Linked DNA regions of Homo sapiens: region 1 is linked to region 2. Evidence: promoter capture Hi-C in 16 types of primary human blood cells and fetal thymus (Javierre and others, 2016). All regions are on one chromosome and are shown on one strand. The core of a region is centred on a gene start or on the middle of the fragment in contact, and the rest is flanking DNA. Distances in the headings are between cores, read along the strand shown.

Region 1 (3,760 bases), core at 724-3,223, 270 kb before region 2:
TCAGAGGAACCCAAGTATCTGCTGGAACCAAACATCTGCAAAGAGGGAAAAAGAATGATTAGTGACCTCTGGGATTGCAGGAAGGATGGGCAGGAACCCTGATGGGCACCCTTCATCTTCCCTATGATGCTCCTTTGAGCACCCAGAGATCCCAAAATAAGAGTCCCTAGCCCCAACAAATTATGGGCCCAAAGACCCAAATTAAACAGCTAAACCTTGGCCAGAAGTGGTAGCTCACACCTGTAATCCCAGCATTCTGGGAGGCCGAGGCAGGCAAATCACTCGAGGTCAGGAGTTTGAGACCAGCCTGGCCAACATGGTGAAACCCCATCTCTACTAAAAATACAAAAATTAGCCGGGCGTGGTGGTGCACGACTGTAATCCCAGCTACTTGGGAGGCTGAGGCAGGAGAATCACTTGAACCTGGGAGGCGGAGGTTGCACTGAGCCAGGATTAAGCCACTGCACTCCAGCCTGGACAACAGAGTGAGACTGTGTCTCAAAAAACAAAAACAAAAACAAACCCCTAAACCTCTAAAAAGGCACTAAAACTAATACTTTAGAGTCCCAAAATGAGGACCTAAATCCTCACTTTGGAGCCCTCCCAAAGCCAGGTACAGTGGCTCACGCCTGTAATCCTAGCACTTTGGGAGGCCAAGGCAGGAGGATTGCTTGATCTCAGGAGTTTGAGACCAGCCTGGCAATATGACAAAACTCCACCTCTACAAAAAAAAAAAAAAAATTACCTGGGCATAGTGGCACATGCTTGTAGTCCCAGCTACTTGGGAGCCTGAGGTGGGGGGATGGTTTGAGCCCAGGAGGTCAAGGCTGCAGTGAGCTAAAATCGCACTACTGCACTCCAGCCTGGATGACAAAGTGAGACCTTGTCTCAAAAACAAAAAAAAAGGAGCCCTCCCAAACCTACAAACCCTAAATTCTAATACTGAGATACCCCAGACCCTCAAACTGTCAACTTCTGATCTTCAAATATGATCCTAATACTAAGATTACAGACTGCAAGCTGTAACACTATGAACCTATATCCTAAGATAAGAAATCCAGGCCCCTATGAAACAAATCTCACTTCTCCAGATTGACCTCTTAGACGTCCAAACTGTCCCTCAAATTGTGGCCCCAACCCTAAAACTGAGATCTCGAATGTGGGTCCTACTCTGAAACCCCAGACCCTAAAACTGGAGCTCCCATACTCAATGTGGGCACTCCAGGCCCTAAAACGTGCTTCTAAAGACTCAAACTGCGACTCCAGATCCTAAAGCTTCATACTCTACATTGGGATTTAGGCCCTAAATCTATACTGAGGCTTCAGTTGCCCCAAATCAGGCTCCAGACTCTCAAAATGTTACATCATAACTCAGAACTAAGACTTCCAGATCCCCAAATTGGGATCTCTGGATTCCAAGGAGAAAGCTTCCAGTCACAAAACTCAAGCTCTTCAGATTCCAGAACTAGTCACCCCTAGACACAAATCCCGAGATCCCAGATCAGAACTCGAGAGCCCGGATTCCCAACACAAACAGAGTCTTCCGTTCCTCAAACTCGAACCTGGACCCCCGGCTTCAAACCCAAACTCCGTCGCCCGTGGCCCTGCACCCAGAGCATGTTCTATTCCCCTGAGCCCCCCACCGAGGGAAGCTCCTGTGGGGATCCCGGGTTCCCCTAAGCCCAGCTAGTGCTGGGGGAGGCCCCCTGCCCCGCGCCCCATTCCCCTTGGCCTCCAGCACCCGCCTCAGGGCGTGCAAAATGGCGTGAGGCTGCCCCCGCCGTTCTGGTTTCTCCGGGCCCCACTCTAGGGAGCCCGATCAGACAGCGTCTCGCGCGGGTCCCGGGAAGCCGGCCGTGCGCGCGGGGATCCCAGACGGTCTCGGACACCACGTTCCCAACCGGGCTTGGGGTTGGGTGCGAATCCTCCCGGCGCGAGGATCCTGCGCGAGGCGTGAGGAGCAGAGCAAGAGTGCGTTCCTGAGGCCAGGCCACGCCCCTACCAGTTCCAGCCAAGATGTGCTGGGCACGAGACGACGGGGTTGAAAGGGCAGGGTGCAAGTGGCCGTGCGCACGCGCGCCTCGGGAAGGGCCCTGTCGTCTTGCACAGCGTGAGCTCGGCCTCGAGCCTTCTGACAAGGCCTTGGTCGGCGTGAGCCGCTAGGTGACCAATCAGCGCCCGCTCAGCCACCCGCCTTTTTAAGCGGTCACGCCCCTGCACGACCCGCGTGGTCCAGGGCCGTTGCATCCCAAGTAGGCTGGGTTTCCTCAACTGCCAACTCTCAGGAAGAGAGAGAGAGCGAGCTCGCCTGTGTCCCTTCTGGCCCTATGATGTCCCATTTCCACCTTTTCCCTTCAGTTCGTGATTCATGAGGGCCTCCTGTGTGCCAAGCACCAGGCTAGATGGTGGGAACTTAGCCACTGTCTTCCCAGTACAATCGAGAAGACCGTGAGAACCTCCGAGACCATGAGAATCCGGTGAGACGGGAACTCGGTTAATGCAGAGAACAATACGTTGGGAAAGGATTCAAAGAGGAGGGCCATTTGAATTGGGCCTTCTTGGGAGGACGAGGCGGGCGGATCACTTGAGGTCAGGAGTTCCAGACCAGCCTGGCCAACAATGGTGAAACCCCGTCTCGGCTAAAAATACAAAAATTAGCCGGGCATGGTGGGGCGCGCCTGTAGTCCCAACTACTCCAGAGGCTGAGGCAGGAGAATCATTTGAACCTGGGAGGTGGAGGTTGAATGAGCTGGTATCGCCACTGCACTCCAGCCTGGGCGACAGAGCAAGACTCTGTCTCAAAAAAAAAAAAAAAAAAAAAAAGGAAAAAAAAGAAAGAAAAAGAATAAAAGATTTGGGCTTTTTTTTTTTTTTTTTTTGGTAGAGACGAGGGTCTCACTTTGCTGCCTAGTTTGGTCTTAAACTCCTGGACTAAAGCCAGTCTCCCGGCTGAGATTATAAGCATGAGCCACCGCACCCAGCCTGGAAAATACGTCTTAAGGGGAGATGATCTAACGACCTAGTCAAGAGTAGAAACCCTGAAATCCAATACATTTCAGTTCAAATCGTTTTCTTGGCTGTGTTGCCAGCGACAAGAGGCTTAATCTCTTTCTGCCTTATAAATTTGGGATTGTAATTCCTACCAGGGTTGTCTGTAGGGTGTCTGGCATATAGTTCCGATGCAATAAATATTTACTGAACACATGTTTACGCTGTTCTAGGTGCTTGAACAAGGTACACAAAGATCTCTGCCCTCCTGGAGCTTCTTCTTCTTCTTCTTCTTTTTTTTTTTTTTGAGACGGAATCTCGCTCTGTCCCCCAGGCTGGAGTGCAGTGGCGCGATCTCGGCTCACTGCAAGCTCCGCCTCCTGGGTTCACGCCATTCTCTTGCCTTAGCCTCCCGAGTAGCTGGGACTACAGGCACCCGCCACCCAGCCCGGCTAATTTTTTGTATTTTTAGTAGAGATGGGGTTTCAGTGTGTTAGCCAGGATGGTCTTGATCTCCTGACCTTGTGATCAGCCCGCCTCGGCCTCCCAAAGTGCTGTGACTACAGGCGTGAGCCACCGCGCCCGGCCTTCTTTTATTTTAAGAGGCAGCAGGGTCTCATTCTGTCGCCCAGGCTGAACTGCATGGAGGGCGGTGGTGTAACACTAGCTCACTGCCTCGAACTCCTGGGCTCGAGCGATGTGGAGCTGCTATTCTATGATGTGGACTAACTCCTAATGTATGGGACTTTCCTTCCTCCTAAGGCTTAATTTT
Region 2 (3,891 bases), core at 1,017-3,516:
GCCACAACACCCCACCCCCACCCCAGAGGCAAGGGGAGGGAGAAGGAGAGGCCTTAGGCCAAGCCTTCCTCTACACTCACACACATACACACCCCCCTCTGCGCGAGGTCCCATGCAGGGGCGGGGGTCCCAGTCAAAAGGGTGTTTGGGGGACGGGCCTAGGAGTTTAGAACAACGTTTCAAGTTACTGTCTCTTCTCAGAGTGAGACTGACGAGTGACAGTTTAGGGTGAACGGACAGGTAGATAAAAGTAACCACTGGAGCTCTCTCAGATTGTCGCGGAGGGGGAATGGTGCGGGACCTGAGCCCCCAAGCCTCAGCAGCGCTCATCTCCCCCCTCCCGTAAATGGACTCCTGGAACTGCTCTGAAGGCTTAACTACTCTCTCGGGGGGCGTGGTGAGGGAAGGGCTGGCTCGCCGACCAATCAGAGTCCTGGGAACCCAGAGGGGGCGGAGCTCCTGGAGACCACCTGGCTGGTTGCCCTTCGGTTCGCGGTTCTAGTCCTGTCTTGGGACACACCGGAGGAACCGGGCATGAGGAGCAGAGGGAGTGGGAATGTGTCTGTGTGTGCCTGGAGAAGAGGGTGACAGCCACCGTATCTCTCCAAGAAACGCCAGCACACAAGCAGACACCCCCTTCTCCTGAGAGCCCAGGGACTAGATCCCCGCAAGGGCCTCGCAGATCCATTGGGTCGCAGACAGGCGCTCTTGTCACGACAGGGATCCCCTCCCTCTGCCTCTAGAGGCGCCGAAAAGAGACCCAGCCGCCAAGGAACCACGGGTTCCGGGGACAGAGAGGGGGGAAGGAAAATGCACCCTACAAATAGGAAGGGAAAGCTGATTGGCCAAGGCGTGCGCCCCGGCGGCCAATCGAAACGCCGGGCTGCCCCCTCCCTTAGCAACGTGGCCCCGGCGTTCCAAAATAGAACGCTCCCGGGACGTCAGGGGCGGGGCGGACGAAGGGGGCGCCGCGCGCCGTGCGTGCCCCGCGTCAGACGGAGGATTCCAGCGCGTCAGCCGTTACGCACGGGTCCCCCGTTACGTCTCCGCGCAGGAGGCGGAGGCAGCGCGGCTGAGGGTTCGAGGCCCCTCTTCCCGATGGGTGGAGGGCGACCCGGCACCGAAGTGGGCGCTCCGAAGGAGGAGGAAAGGAAAAGAGACTGCTGGAAGCTTCCCCGGGATTTCCCCCACCTGCCTAACTGCGCTAGCTTCAGGTCTGGGACCCGAGCAGGGGGCAGTCCCGGGGCCGGCTCAAAGTTCTCAGCCCCGCTACCGCATACACGTTGCATTGAGCAGCGCATTACCCACCCCACCCCCACCTCGCCCCAAAGCCTACCCTCCCTGCCGCGTTCCCTCCTTGCGCTCCACGCACGCAACCAATTGCAAACATCTCCCGACTCTTTGCAGTTTGCAAAGTGCGCTGTGAGCCTTTTCCATCTCAGATCTAGGGTTCTGATGCGCCTTTTTGTGGGGGTTGGGGTTTATTCTTTTCACCCTTGACTTAAAAAATAAAACCTACAAAGCAGCACCCCTACTATCAAAAACTTACCTGGGAGGCGGCGGCGGTGGGTGGACTGCCGAAGGAGTCCACCGAAGACAGATATTGAGACTCGGCAGAGGGTGAGGAGCTGCACCGGGAGCCGGAGTCGTAGTCTCCGGGGAAAGCCTGAAACATTTCCCTGGGCACAGGGGGGCCCCTGTGACCACGCTGAGGTCGCCGGGAAGCCAAGGCTATGGCCGGGTTGGGGAAGTAAGGTGCAAGTCCGGGGTGAGCCGTGGGAGTCCCCGGTGAGCTGAGCGAGTCCTCAAAGTACGCTGTCCGGGGAAGCTCGGGGAAGGAGCAACGTCCCGTTCCAACAATGGCAAAGTTTCTGTGCAGTCTTCCTGCGGTGCCCAGGCCCCCACAGGATGCCGCTGTACCTCTTGAAAGTGCAGGCTCCGTAGGACCCAGGGGCGAGGGAGGGGTTGCTCCCCCAGGGGCAGAAAGCGCTGTCCCGCTGTACAGAATCAGCTTCAGCTACGGTCTCCTCCACGCGTCCGGCGGGTCCCACGGGGGGAGGGGAGTAATAAAGAAGACCAAAAAAAGTAAGTCGGTCCTCCAAAAGAAAATGAAGAAATATCTGGAAGAATCTTTCCAAAAACTTTCTCCCCGGAAAAAAAAAGATTAATGAAATTTCATAACCCCCAAGAAGAACCACAACAATCAAGTTTCCAAGTCTTGGTTCCGCGTGTCCCTGCCGTGGCCGTAGCTCTGAGTCTTATGAATGAAGCACAGACCCGCCAGCCTGTATTTATATGCCCGGGACCCGCCCCCCTGCTTACGTCACCCGCCCCTTGCTGGACAAACTTCCCCAAATCTCCGGCCCCGCCAAATCGAGTCCCGCACTGTCCAGCAAGAGGTCTGTTCTAGACTCGATCTGGTCACTTGCATGACCCTCGGGGCCCTGGGGGTCTCGGGGGTTGCGTTCCGGGCCACTCGGCGGGAGGGGATCCCGGCCCCGCCTTCCCGGAGTTCCTGTGACGCAATTAGCCATATAAGGAGCTCGGCCGGCGCGGCGGAGTGTTTGTTTGGTATCCTAGCAATGACGTCAGAGGGAATCCCTCGCTCGCTCGCGCGCGCGCCCGCGCCCCGCCCGCGCCTGCGCAGTGCAACGCCGCCCCGGGGGCTGGTAATAATAGGCGCTTAGACTAGCCCCGCAGGGACCCCGCTGACCCGGGCGGGGAAGACCCCAGCCTGCAGGTCCCCTTCACCTCTGGCGCCCCCACCTACCCTGTTCTACCGATGGTGCAGCGCCCCCATTCGAGAAGAAGAGCAGATCTCCAAAAGGAGACCCTGATTAGTGTGGTGTGGTCACGTAGGTGGGGAAACTGAGTCCCGAGCGGGCTGTGATGCTCAGGTGAAAGTGGAGGTAATGGAGGGATTCCGAGGCTCGTCCTGGTTTCTGTCCTGATTCGCTGTGCGAGCTTAGGAAATGTTTTCCCTCTCTGAGCTTTAGCTTTAATCTTCCCCGCTGGGCAAAGGATGTGTGTCTTGGACCCTGCTGGCCTTACAGGTCCGGCGTTTGGGAGGGATGCGGATTTGGAGGAGATGGGAAATGAAACTTAGAGAGAAGCCTCTCTTCTGATGGTGTTGGTAGCCTCTCCTTCCACCTTTTAATCCACCCGGAGACAAAGAATGTGTAAGAGGGAGGGGATATTATTATTAATTCTAATAATAATAATTAATGCCTTGTATTTGGCACTTGCCAAGCACAGCTCCTGTGCTACGCCTTTCAGTAGAAGATTTGTAATCCTTAAAACAGCTCTGGAAGGTTAAGAGAGAAAAATCTTCATTTTATAAAAGAAAAAAATGATACTCAGGGAGGTTAAATGACTTGCCCAAGATCCCATCACAAGAAATTCAAACTCAGAATTGTCAAACTCCAGATTTCCTACCCTTTCCATTTCTTTTCTGATTTCTGAGACCTGCCTGGTTGGATGAAACTCCCTGAAAAACCTGTGTCTGGGGTTTTTTTAAATGATAATGGCAATATTAGTAGCTTTCACTTGTCAGGTCTTTTTTTTTTTTTTTTTTTTTTTTTTTTTGAGACGGAGTCTTGCTCTGCCGCCAGGCTGGAGTGCAGTGGCGATCTCGGCTCACTGCAACCTCCGCCTCACCTTAGCCTCTCGAGTTGCTGGACTACAGGCGCGGGCCACCACGTCAAGCTAATTTTTATATGTTTAGTACAGACGGGGTTTCACCATATTGGTCAGGATGGTCTTGAACTCCTGACCTGGTGATCCGCCTGCCTCGGCCTCCCGAAGTGTCGAGATTACAGGCGTGAGCCACAGCGCCTGGCCTGTCAGGTCTTTCTAAGCTTTACAATCTCCTTCTTACTGCTCTTAGCATGT

What was found. The method cuts DNA at HindIII sites, captures the fragments that hold promoters and counts their contacts. A CHiCAGO score of 5 or more calls a contact.
Region 1: a contact is called between the fragment with the promoter of MEIOSIN here and the fragment with the promoter of FOSB in region 2, in 1 of 17 cell types (non-activated CD4 T cells). The highest score is 6.6, in non-activated CD4 T cells.

What each region holds. Positions count from the first base shown.
Region 1 is chr19:45,731,652-45,735,411 of GRCh38, reverse strand. MEIOSIN (meiosis initiator) reads right to left here and starts at 1,973. Exons shown (of 15, transcript NM_001310124.2): 1 at 1,746-1,973; 2 at 1-35. The coding sequence starts at 35. It also overlaps a transcript of FBXO46 not described here. The HindIII fragment of the contact is 2,985 bases long and covers 1,430-3,760 here.
Region 2 is chr19:45,466,371-45,470,261 of GRCh38, reverse strand. It overlaps FOSB (FosB proto-oncogene, AP-1 transcription factor subunit), which reads right to left and starts at 2,266. Exons shown (of 4, transcript NM_006732.3): 1 at 1,550-2,266. The coding sequence starts at 1,675. RefSeq lists enhancers at 169-218, 1,264-2,165 and a silencer at 2,350-2,629. The HindIII fragment of the contact is 2,687 bases long and covers 1,173-3,859 here.